Linked DNA regions of Homo sapiens: region 2 is linked to region 1. Evidence: promoter capture Hi-C in human tissues and cell types (Jung and others, 2019). All regions are on one chromosome and are shown on one strand. The core of a region is centred on a gene start or on the middle of the fragment in contact, and the rest is flanking DNA. Distances in the headings are between cores, read along the strand shown. Region 1 holds the start of FOXL2 (forkhead box L2). Region 2 has its middle 7.1 kb from the start of PRR23C.

Region 1 (5,815 bases), core at 1,805-4,304:
CCAGGCTGCGAGGAGGCGCGGGAGCTGAGACTGCGCTCAATCGGCGGTTCACTGGAACCGTATCCGCAGGCGGCGCTACGGTGGGACCACGGTCAGGAGGCGCCGGTGGCTGCTGAATTGCAGCTGCGGGACCCTGGAAAACTGGGGCAAAGAGGCAGTGAGTTCTGCCCAGCCCACCACCCTGGCCTTTGGAGGTGAGCGCCGCCCCAAGGTCACTAAGCCGGGGGCCCTGCGTCGCCCCAATGCCGCGGGGAGAAAAGGAACCGGCCCTGGCGTCCACAAAACCTAGGCACAGTATGCCCTGTTCAGAGAGGATCCCGACCTCGCCAGCAACCAGCCTACCTCCGAAGGTTGAGAAGTAAATCAGGGCGCCCCGCACCGTTTCCTGGAGCGCCCGGTTCACCCACCTCTGGCTGGGCCGGCAAGGAGAGGATTCTGTTCTCTCCCTAGATTCCTCTATCTCCAGCCCGAAGCCCCTGGCTTTTCCGCAGAAGCCTGGAGGGGACCTGAAAGTAATCATTCTGCCAGCTTTCCCGCCCGCATTTTCTTGCCTGTTTTCTGAGCCTTCGAATGCCGGACAGCCATGTGAAGGCACATCTTGGGGAGACCGATTCCAGCCCTTCCCAGGGTGCACGCATCAGGCATCCTCTTCTTCACCAGGGCTGGGGATTCTGTTCCTCTACGGGACAGTCAGAAATCAGTATTTTCAGAGCAGAACTCCTTTCTATTCTGAAAATCCTTCAGAGGAACTCCTTCATTTGCCCCCAACCCCTACACACACACACACACACACACACACGCACATGCATACACACACAGGCTCTTTAAAGGCTGAAAAGGGAGCCGAGTGTGGAATTCAGGGAAGTGATGACACACACAACAATGCTGTTACACCTGGCTGCTGCAGGGCTGAGCAGCGGAAATGCCTGTGAGAAGAAGAAAGAAAGACAGAGAGACGCAGAGAGCCAGCCTGGGTGGTCAAGAAAAAAAAAAAGGAGAGAAAAGGAGAGAGGAGCCCCCACCAGGATGGGGCCAGACCCAGCTGTTTTTCCCCCTGCCCAGGCCCTGGCTGGGGGAGGATAGGCACTGAGGCCAATCTGCAGCAGCCCCAAACCGGACTCACCACTCCCACCCAAAGCTTGGGCAAGGATGGGGGTAAGGAAGAAGAAAAACATCTGCACTCCTGCTCAGAAAGCAGCAGCAGGGATTCTGCGGAAGTGCTGCTTCCCCCATGTCTGTTGGGTGCAGTGGGAGACCGCCCATAAAAAAAACCAAGCTACTTTGGGGATAGCCTTGCTCCCTCTCATCCTTGTGACCAGGCAAGGGCTGCCCTGCTGACCTCTCTGGTGTCATCTTCAAGATGCTGAATTCCAAAGAGCCCTACCACCCTTGTCCTCCCTCCCTTTCATCTCAGAATGCAGATCAGAGGCCTGAGTGAGCAGCAGACAACACTTGTAGATGGCCTGTGGATGCTGGAACCACAGGCCGCTGAAGGCTCCTTGGGCTTCAGGAGAACCCTCAGAGTCTAAACAGCCTGGGAGGAAGAGGCAGTGACAGGCATTGAGTCAGCCACTCCAGACATGCCAATCACTAATGCACAGCTATATGACATCCATTCAGTCCACCTTCCTCCATAAGGTGGCCTTGCCCCCCTCCTCAGCACCAAGGAGTTTGGGGCTTGAGGATTCAAAACACTGGCCATCTCTCTCATACTTTATGACTGCAGACTTTTTGTTTAGGCCAAGTTAAAAGGCACTGTTAAGGAGCACACTGTTAAAAGGCACACCTGATTTTCCCTGAAACAATCTCTGTACATGCTGAAATAATTGGATTCCCATCAGAATTCTGCTTAAGGTAGGTGACAACTAACTCCTGATTCTTTGGAGAAAGATCAGAACAAATGTCTCATCAGGAGAGAGATTTGAACAAGTCCCTCCCTCAGCCTGATGTTTGTCTTCCCAGTCTGTGGCAAAATACATACACTGGGAGGGAAAGAGGCATCGAAGAATTGTGAAAGAAAGGAAGAAAGGGGGGAAGGAAAGAAGTAAGAAAGGAGAAAAAGAGAAGATGCTATATCCACCAGCTACATTTACTCTAATACTTGATGAACATATTACATAACTATCAGTATAAGTGTGTTTTACCTCGTAAATACAAATCTCACACCTTGTACATGTGCATACCTGTGTTTCTGAGCAGCACACATGCACCTGGTATCTCACCCATCTCAAGGACAGCTCCTCTCCATGACTTCCATATGTGACCCCTGTGCACACACATACACAGTCCCGCAAAGTCCCGGGCAACAGCCCCGCCTGTGTTAGTGCAATAGCTGAGGGGCATCTACTTGGTGCTGTTAAAGCACACATCCAACCTTCACTCCAACCCCGTAGGATTAGTACACGGATTCCTGGTTCCTAGATCCACTGGTAACGCAGGGAGAGGCAGAGGTGATTCAGGCGGCGCCCCTGACGACTATTTCCAGAGATCCTCTCCCCTGCCCCATTCCAGCCCAGTCACTCTGAGAGCGCGAGGGACAGGCCAGGCCGAGGCTTCTTCGTACAGTCACACCCGTTTCTGGGCTGACTTTCCCAAAGCCTCAGAGCAGCTCTCCCCACCCTACCCCGTCCAGCCCCCTCGCCGTCTCGCCCCTCCCCAGCCCCGAGCTAGAAGTTCAGCCTCAAGACGGCAGCAAACGGCAGAGCAAAGGAGTCGTTTTCTTTCACCTGAAAGCCGCGAGGAGGCTTGGAGCGCCTTTCCTCGCTGGGGCCCGAGCTTCCTGGGCTTTGGCCGGGTGCGGGCAGACCCCACCGGGGTCCTCGTCATCTCCCAGCCCAGCCCGCAGAGCGAGTACCGGCAGATTTCAAGGGCGCGTGAGCCTGGCTGTCGGCTGGGCCCCTGAGGCTCGCTGGGCGGGGGCAGGCCGGTCCAGGCTGTGCGGGGCGTTTACAAAAAGTGACTTGGAGATGAACTCGCCCGTGCGCGGCTGGCCGCCCCGCTATAGGGGCGAAGGCGCCTGACGCAAGCGGAACTCGGTGGAGCCCATACGAATCAGAACAGAGCGAGGCTCCTGGCGCACTAGGGACTCCAGGAGGCAGCTCCGCCAGAGACGCGGGTCGTGCTTCGGGAAACCGGGGGGCGGGGGGAGGGGAAGAGCGCAGAAAAGAAAACCCACCAAGGCGGGGACTGGCCTGAGCGGGGAGGGGCGGCGAGGCCGGAGCCCCTCTCTGTTGGGCGGACTCCCCATGGCCAGAGGCTGAGCTCCACTCCCGCCGGCCGCTCCCTAGGGGAAGGGGAAGGAGAGGGGAGAGCAGCGACAGGCCTCCAGCAAGCAAGCGCGGGCGGCATCCGCAGTCTCCAGAAGTTTGAGACTTGGCCGTAAGCGGACTCGTGCGCCCCAACTCTTTGCCGCGCCAGCGCCTGGAGCGGAGAGCAGAGGCGGCCCGGCCGCGGCGCGCCGGCTTTGTCATGATGGCCAGCTACCCCGAGCCCGAGGACGCGGCGGGGGCCCTGCTGGCCCCAGAGACCGGTCGCACAGTCAAGGAGCCAGAAGGGCCGCCGCCGAGCCCAGGCAAGGGCGGTGGGGGTGGCGGCGGGACAGCCCCGGAGAAGCCGGACCCGGCGCAGAAGCCCCCGTACTCGTACGTGGCGCTCATCGCCATGGCGATCCGCGAGAGCGCGGAGAAGAGGCTCACGCTGTCCGGCATCTACCAGTACATCATCGCGAAGTTCCCGTTCTACGAGAAGAATAAGAAGGGCTGGCAAAATAGCATCCGCCACAACCTCAGCCTCAACGAGTGCTTCATCAAGGTGCCGCGCGAGGGCGGCGGCGAGCGCAAGGGCAACTACTGGACGCTGGACCCGGCCTGCGAAGACATGTTCGAGAAGGGCAACTACCGGCGCCGCCGCCGCATGAAGAGGCCCTTCCGGCCGCCGCCCGCGCACTTCCAGCCCGGCAAGGGGCTCTTCGGGGCCGGAGGCGCCGCAGGCGGGTGCGGCGTGGCGGGCGCCGGGGCCGACGGCTACGGCTACCTGGCGCCCCCCAAGTACCTGCAGTCTGGCTTCCTCAACAACTCGTGGCCGCTACCGCAGCCTCCCTCACCCATGCCCTATGCCTCCTGCCAGATGGCGGCAGCCGCAGCGGCTGCAGCAGCTGCGGCTGCAGCCGCGGGCCCCGGTAGCCCTGGCGCGGCCGCTGTGGTCAAGGGGCTGGCGGGCCCGGCCGCCTCGTACGGGCCGTACACACGCGTGCAGAGCATGGCGCTGCCCCCCGGCGTAGTGAACTCGTACAATGGCCTGGGAGGCCCGCCGGCCGCACCCCCGCCTCCGCCGCACCCCCACCCGCATCCGCACGCACACCATCTGCACGCGGCCGCCGCACCGCCGCCTGCCCCACCGCACCACGGGGCCGCCGCGCCGCCGCCGGGCCAGCTCAGCCCTGCCAGCCCAGCCACCGCCGCGCCCCCGGCGCCCGCGCCCACCAGTGCGCCGGGCCTGCAGTTCGCTTGTGCCCGGCAGCCCGAGCTCGCCATGATGCATTGCTCTTACTGGGACCACGACAGCAAGACCGGCGCGCTGCATTCGCGCCTCGATCTCTGAGAGCCCACCGCATGCCGGTGCAGACGGATGCGAGGATGCAGGGACGCGCGACGCCGGCCCCGGTCGCAGCCGACGACGCCGCCGCCAGCCTGACCTCACACCCTCTGGGCCCGCCTCTGGAGCCAGCGCCCAGGGTCCCTCTGTGCTTTTTCGCTTTCCTAAGCTCCTGTCGCTCCTCTTTGTCCCCTCAGTTTATGTCCTCCTGTGCTCACCTCCCTGACCTCTGTGACCTTGCACTCCCCTGGCCTGAAGCTGCCTCTCTGCGCGCTTTCTACTGGGCTCGTCTCTTTCCGGAGCCCCAGCGTCTCCTGCCCAAATTCACCGCGGAAAGGGCCCGGGGCGGAGGTGCGACCGGGCGTCGGCAGCGCAGACCTCTTGGCCTTCTCTCACAGGTCGGTGCGCTCGCTCTCCGCGTTCCCCGCCCGACTGCCGTGCAGTCCATGGCTAGACGCGCCGGACAGGACTGATGGCGGGACCGCGCTGCCCGAGAAAGGGACGGACCAATACGTGTGTTTGCTCCGCGAACCCTCTTGAAGCTGTTCAGAAGCCGCTTGCCGCGGGGCCCACTAGGCGGGGCGGGGGTTGGGACCCAGCGGGAGCCGGGGCAGCCTGGCTCCACGGCCTGTACTCGGTTTACACCGCGGGCGGGCGCGGAGGGAGGCTGCGTTTCCTCCGCTATCAGTCCCGTCGCTTCGGGCACCTCCGGGCCCCGGCGGCTGGCTAATGTTTTGTTTGAAAGATCGGTGGAACTTTTTAAGAGAGTATTTAAAAAAAAAAAAAGGAAAAAAAATTCACCGGGCAACCGGGGAAGTATTGTGGCCTTGGAGTTTGCTAAATCCAAATATGAAAATCAAAAGCTTTAGTATTCCTCATCTTCTCTTCTGGAAGATTTGCGTTAGAGTTTTTGTTGGGCCTTCAAAAAGCTGTGTTCAGAGTTAGGAGAATATATCCAATAAAAGATGGTTTCGTCTACCAATTGGGGAAGTTTCACCCTCTCCCTATCTGAAGAAAAAAATCAAAAACAAATGTCCCCGGATCTTTCGATGCAAGTCCTGGAGGCAGGGAGATCACTGCCTGCCTGGCCCACGCTGCTGGGACGGCTCGTCCTCCCTGCTTTTTGTTTTTCAAACCTCCTGCTTCTCCCACCTTGGGAAGGAGAAATGTGAAACCCGGCAGCGGCCGACCTAGGCGGTCTTGTGGCCCGGAGCCGGCCCGG
Region 2 (6,279 bases), core at 1,090-3,589, 91 kb before region 1:
CATAGCACACTTTCGCTCTTCCAATTAACTGATTCTGTCATTGTCTGTTTTCAGAATTCATTTATTGTTCTTTATAAGACTTTATTTCAAATACTGCATTTTTCATTTTTAAGACTTCTGATTACTTGGGTTTTTAATATCTATATGCTCTTATTTCACAACTTCTGATCAATGTCATATAAATTTTTCTAGTTTCACGGATGTTATCTCCTCCTTTATCTCTAGAAGAAATTAAACACTCTTATTTTAAATTCTATATTAATTAGCTCAATAATTATATTTCCTCAGGCATAACATCTCCAATTATTTGATAGCATTTAATGACACTGATTTTCCCCTGGGCAAAAATTTGGTATGTGGACATATTTTGAATGTGCATTCATTTTCTGTTCCAAATTTGTTTTGTTTTTTAGAGACAGGGTCTCACTCTGTCTCTCAGGCTGGAGTGCAGTGCTCACTGCAGCCTTGACCTCTCATGCTCAAGCAATCCTCCCATCTCAGCCTCCCCAGTAGCTGGGGCTACAGGAACATGCCACCACACCTGGCTAATGTTTTATATTTTTATTTTTTGTAGAGAGAATCTTCTCTGTTGCCCAGGCTGATCTCAAACTCCTGGGCTCAAGCGATCCTCCTACCTTGGCCTCCCAAAGTAGTGGGATTACAGGCATGTCTGCTCCTTATTTGAATTTTACATTTGCCTCTTTCTTGCTCCCTAGGAGTCAAGACTCAGAGCCAAACATTATGGAGCTCATATGATTTGCAACTCAAAAATCACAGTTCCCATCCTCAAGTAATCATACATGGCCCAACTTCCAATTTCAATGCAGTAGTGACACTGGGCTGGACTGTCCATAGTCCCAATCCCATCAAGACTGCTGGGAGTATTAGCAGCTAAATTCAGTTGTTCTCCAGGAATTACCCTCAGCCTCTGTGGGTAATTCATGCCAATAACTGTTCAATTAGAGGGTATACAGGTCCAGCTCACTTGCTTTAAGTTGAGACAACTCTGAAGAATCATCCCAATTCTAGGGCTCTCAGTGAGTTGGCTGAGGCTTTGTTGCAGCTGCATCCCAGTTCAATCCTCCATCTGTCCTGTCACATTTTCTTTGTTCCCCAAAATTTCTGCATGCAAATCTCCATTGCAAAGTCTTCCCAAGCCAATTTAAGATAGCTGGTGCCAGGGGCTGTCATAGGAAGTAGCCACTAAAATGGATTTCAGAGCTGAATCATGGAGCATGAATAGCCCATGGCATGTTACAGGAAAGCAAATAAGATCTTAATCAATGGCAAACTAACTGGGAATGTGGAAGAAGGCAACATACTGGCATTGGCAGAATCCCAGGCATTAGAAAAATTGGGGGCACAGAGTAATTATATGCATGATAGTTATAAATAATGGGGAATTGAATAGCTGTTTCTGGGACAATAAATGCATTTGAGAAAGAAAGTGAAAGTCGGAGGGTGATTAATTACCAATAAAACCCAAATATGAAATCTAGACACATTCCTTGGCAGCATACAAATAGCCTTTCATCTCCTGTAGCTAACGGGGGGAAACACAACTGAGGATCTGGCCCAGAGTTTACTGCAAGGATAGTGGCAGTATAAAGGCTGAATCCTCAAACTAGGAAAGTCTGTAATGGTAAGGTCCCAGCCCAGACTGAGCCCTGAAACACTGGATGAAGATAACCAAGTAGATTCACTTGAATATCTTGAATCCCAAACCCCCTTCAATCCTCTTGGCCTGTAGAAGTGGCCTACTCCTCTCTATTAAAGGTTGGCACTCCATCCTTGCATAAGATGTTGCAGAAGCCTCTGCCTAGCAAGATAACATGCACCCACCTCGAGAACTACCTCCTCTTTGCCACAGGCCAGTAACTAAAGCATGTTATAACCCAGCCAGGGAAATACTGGCCTGTAACTAAGGAAAGGGGCTCTATATGCCCTAGAATTGCTGTGGGTGTCACCCAACATATAACAGCAGGAGTCAAGTATAAGAGTGAGAATGCTGGATGTTAGCCTAGAGAAGGGAGAGTTTCTCAATTTAGAAGCACTCTCCCAAGATACATGATTTAACACCGTAGCAAGGATGCTGTAAGAGAGTGCTAACAATCTGATGGGTGGATCTTGCAGGGTTAGAGAAAAAGATGTCCCATACTACGTTAAGTAGGAATGCCATAACTGCCAAGGCAGACAGCAGAGAAAAGGATCAAAACATCCAGAGAAGTGGATATGATACAGTGCACATACTACCTAAGGCTGTAAAATACATCAGCTACTATGATGTGTGGGAGGGCCTCAAGGGACATTGCATAACAAACAAATGCCCTAGAGAGGCACTGGGGTCATTGAGAAACCCATTAGGCCAAGGTAAGGGCAGGAAATGCCATTAGAGAGCTGAACTCCTTGGTAGCCAAGGGGATAATGGGATCTGAGAGACCGAAAATACAAATGAACAATGTCCAGACCACACATGACAGTAGAAATCTTACCCATAACCTCTGCAGCAACTATCCCAGAAGCCAAACCATAGTCTCTGCAGTAACTGGCCCCAAAATGGTCCAGACTTGTTCAATAACTGCCAGGTGTTCTAATTCTCACCCTCACTTCCAACTCAGGACCAACCAGAAAAAGCCAAATATGCTATGCCTAAGATACAAGGTGCACAAACCAACCAATCACATAGGATGCCCCACCTCTAGTTAGTCCACCTCCAGCTTCCCTATGCCAGCAACTTCCAATCAGACATATCTGAAGCCTTCCCCTTTTTCACTATAAAATTTTCCAACTCACCTGCCTGCCAATAAGTCTCTATCAAATGCAAGTGATGGGGCTAACTCCCTTGCTATAGAAAGCTCTAAATAAATTGCCTCTGCTTGTTCCCATTTAGGTGGTCTTCGCTTATTTTCCATTTTTTTGTGAGATATGGTACACACAGCCCAGTGTGGTAAGTCAGCACTAGGTCTGAACTCTTTCTTTGCATTGAGTTCCCTGTCCATTTACTCTCAGTTTGGTATCCACGTTTCGTTATCAGTTCCATTTGTTCGGCAGCCTTGATGGAATCAAACCATTTCTTTTCATCTCCTTTTACTCGCTTTTGTGTTTCCATTTTGTGTTGTATGGTCTAAAACTGTTGTTTATCACAAGAAAGAAAATCGCAGGGTACAACACAGTCATAGGCTCTACACGCCTGTTGTTTGAGCCAGCCTCACAGTCCGGTGAGTTGGGCAGGCCTCACAGTCGGTGAGTTTGCAGTTCTCACCAGATAAGCTTCCATTTGGACAAACTTTTCTGTGGATTATCAATAAAAGTGGGTGAGGTTTTCCTGTTTTTATGTTTTGTTTTTAGAGCTTGGCTTTGATCCAGAAAGTGTTCTCTCTGGTTTTCCATCTACCACAGTCCACATTCAGAGGCACTGACTATCAGTTTGGGAGCCTCTGACACAGAAGCACCAGCACCACATTTTGCTGACCATCACCATCTCTTATGGAGTTATCTAAGTCTAAATCCTCTCCTTTTACAGAAAAAAATGCCTGCTTCTTATATGTGTTCTCATTTAGAATCCTAATTCTTGTCCCTGTCTTTCTAAATGGCATAATTTTACCAAGGGTGATGTGAGCCTTTAATGGCTACTGTGGAGAACATTTAACTTGAAATCATTCACTTGAGAGGCACCTTAGAAAAAAATGGAAATAAAATTTCTCATGTTCAATGAGCAGCATTTTTAGTTATATAGAGGTCTCCAGATGAAACTCTAAATCGAAAATGGCTTCATTAAAAGATTATTTGGCCAAAGCTAATGTGCAGTTTGACAACAATGAACTAGATTCATTTCCCTGGTAAATCCTCTGTCCTCGTCCACCAGTTCCCTCTCTATAACCAGATCTCCCTCTGCCCCTTATCCTCCCAATCTCTCTCCTTCTATACCTCCATCAACTCCTCCCTCCAGTTGTCCTTGTTCAGGCCCCCTACCTTTTCCCAACAACTTTCTCCAAAACCTAAAATGCCAGTTGCCTCTTAAGACCCATCCCTCCATGAACCAGGTATTCAGACAACTGGCGAATTTAAAGCTTGGACCTGAGCGGAATTAAGAGCTGTAAGTTTCCCTAAATGCAGACAAGACTAGTAAATATTCATAGAATAGTTTAAAATCCTTTTGGGTACACCTGACCCAGAATTACCTGACTTATATCAACTCATACACATATGGGTCAGAACCACAGATGCTAAATCCTAGATGGCAAAAGTTGATTGGACTGACCCAGAGGACCTACAGGATATCTCTTTCCATAAAAAACCTGCAGTTCAGAAAAACCCTGAAAAGTAAGGTGAAGTCTCCGAGAAGCCATACCCAAAACACTTCCAATAAAAATTAATGCAAGGGCTACCATTTCTACATTAAATACTGTGCCTTTGTGCTCTCTTCTTCAGAGTAATGGTACTGCACAGGTGGCAGGCATTTCAAATAACACAAATTTTCCCTGTCTTCCAGCCTTTAACTGTAACCCTTGGGCCTTTGCCTGGAAATATTCCTTCTTGTTCTGTGATAATACACCTGCAAATTTAATAAGGAGAGATATACTTTATACATGAGATTGCAATCATAAATGCACACCAGAGGGAGCATTTCTTAAGTTTCCAGAGGACTCCTCTATTCATAATCAAGTTGTGTTTGTTCTGAATATACCTTTGCATTCTGTATTTTATTTGATGCATACCCCAGATAAAGATCTTGACACTATTCCATGACCTTCTATGGGCTAAAAATTTCACTGGCATAGGAAAAATAACGAGAGCAGAATCTATAAAAGTTCAGATAGATCCTACCAAGCCATTACTCAAACTTCTCCAATATCCCTTGAAGCCAAAGGAAGGGCTCAAACTATGGTTAAAGGCCTTACATACAAAAGTCTTCTCATACTCTGCACTAGCCGTTGTAACACTCCCATCCTCCGAGTAAAGAAACAAAGCGACAAAGATACCAATTTGTTCAAGACCTCAAGGCCATCAACAAAATCGTTATACCTCATTTCCTGATAGAACTTGACCCAATTTGTTCAAGACCTCAAGGCCATCAAGAAAATCATTATACTTCATTTCCTGATAGAACTTGACCCAAATACCATTCTGTCATAAATTTCCACCTGAAGTTATTTGCTTCACAGTATCGGATCTTTGCTCTGCCTCTTTCAGTGTACTTCTGAATAAGGATAGTCAATACCTTTTTGCATTCACCTAAGGCGGACAATAATGTACTTAGACAGTCATACCCCAGGAGTTCACTAGAGCCCCCTCCAATTTTCCCAGGTCTTCAATCAAGACTTAAAAGACCTAAAATTTCCCCTTGCGATTCAGTTCTGACATAAAATGTAAATGATATCCTACTTTATTCAGAGAACAAGGAAGTCTATAAAAAGGATTCCGTTTAGTTGCCCCTAGCCTTAGCAGAAAAGAAACATAAACGTTTCAAAAGATAACTTACAATTTTTTCCAAACTGCAGCCTATTATTTAGAGCATGACCTAACTGAGGAAGATAAACCATTCTCTACTGATACGCTAAAGACTATCCAAAAATATTCTAGACCCCTCACAAAAGACAACTAAGAGTATTTTGGAGTTTAACTGGATATTACAGACAATGAGTGCCAAATTTTTCTAGGATTGAAATACCGTTTTATGAATTGACTAAGTCCTCAGTAAGAGACCCTCTCCTAAGGAAATCAAAAGTGAACAGGTTTTCTGTAACCTGAAAAAGACGTTCAACAGCCTCTTTCTCTAGGCATCCCAAACTACAAAAATCTCTTTGTCTATTTGTGCATAAGCAATCCGGACAAGCCCTTGGGTTTTAACGCAAATTGATAGGAACCACTAAAAACATATTGCTCCAAAAACTGGAAGCAACCAAGCTGTCCTTCAATAGGTAGATGGATAAACAAACTGTAGTTCATCCATACAATGAAATATTATTCAGCTATAAAAAGAAATGATCTATCAAATCATGAAAAGGTACGGGGAAGTCTTAAAATGCATATTACTAAGTGAAAGAAACTAATCTGAAAAAGCTACATACTCTATGACATTCTGGAAAAGATGAAACTGTGGAAACAGTAAAAATATTAGTGGTTGTCAAGTGTTTGGAGGTGAAAAGAGGAGTGAATGGGTGGAACACAGAGGACCTCTAGGGGGATGAAACTATTCTGGATAATACTATGATGGTAGATATAGGACGTTATGCATTTTTCAAAACTCATAGAACTGTACAACACAAAGAGTGAACT

The links. The method cuts DNA at HindIII sites, captures the fragments that hold promoters and counts their contacts. A contact is called where the count stands out against the background at its distance.
Region 2: a fragment that was not itself captured here is called in contact with the fragment with the promoter of FOXL2 in region 1 in 2 of the 25 tissues and cell types used here (H1 embryonic stem cells and thymus).

The regions. Positions count from the first base shown.
Region 1 is chr3:138,944,376-138,950,190 of GRCh38, reverse strand. It overlaps FOXL2 (forkhead box L2), which reads left to right and starts at 3,054. Exons shown (of 1, transcript NM_023067.4): 1 at 3,054-5,815. The coding sequence starts at 3,469. The coding sequence ends at 4,599. It overlaps FOXL2NB (FOXL2 neighbor), which reads right to left and starts at 2,974. Exons shown (of 3, transcript NM_001040061.3): 1 at 2,727-2,974; 2 at 552-671. The coding sequence starts at 2,826. RefSeq lists a silencer at 2,810-3,038 and an enhancer at 5,079-5,668. The HindIII fragment of the contact is 6,167 bases long and covers 388-5,815 here.
Region 2 is chr3:139,034,630-139,040,908 of GRCh38, reverse strand. No RefSeq gene overlaps it. Among named protein-coding and RNA genes, the nearest start is that of PRR23C, 7.1 kb to the left of the region's middle. The HindIII fragment of the contact is 8,593 bases long and covers 1-6,279 here.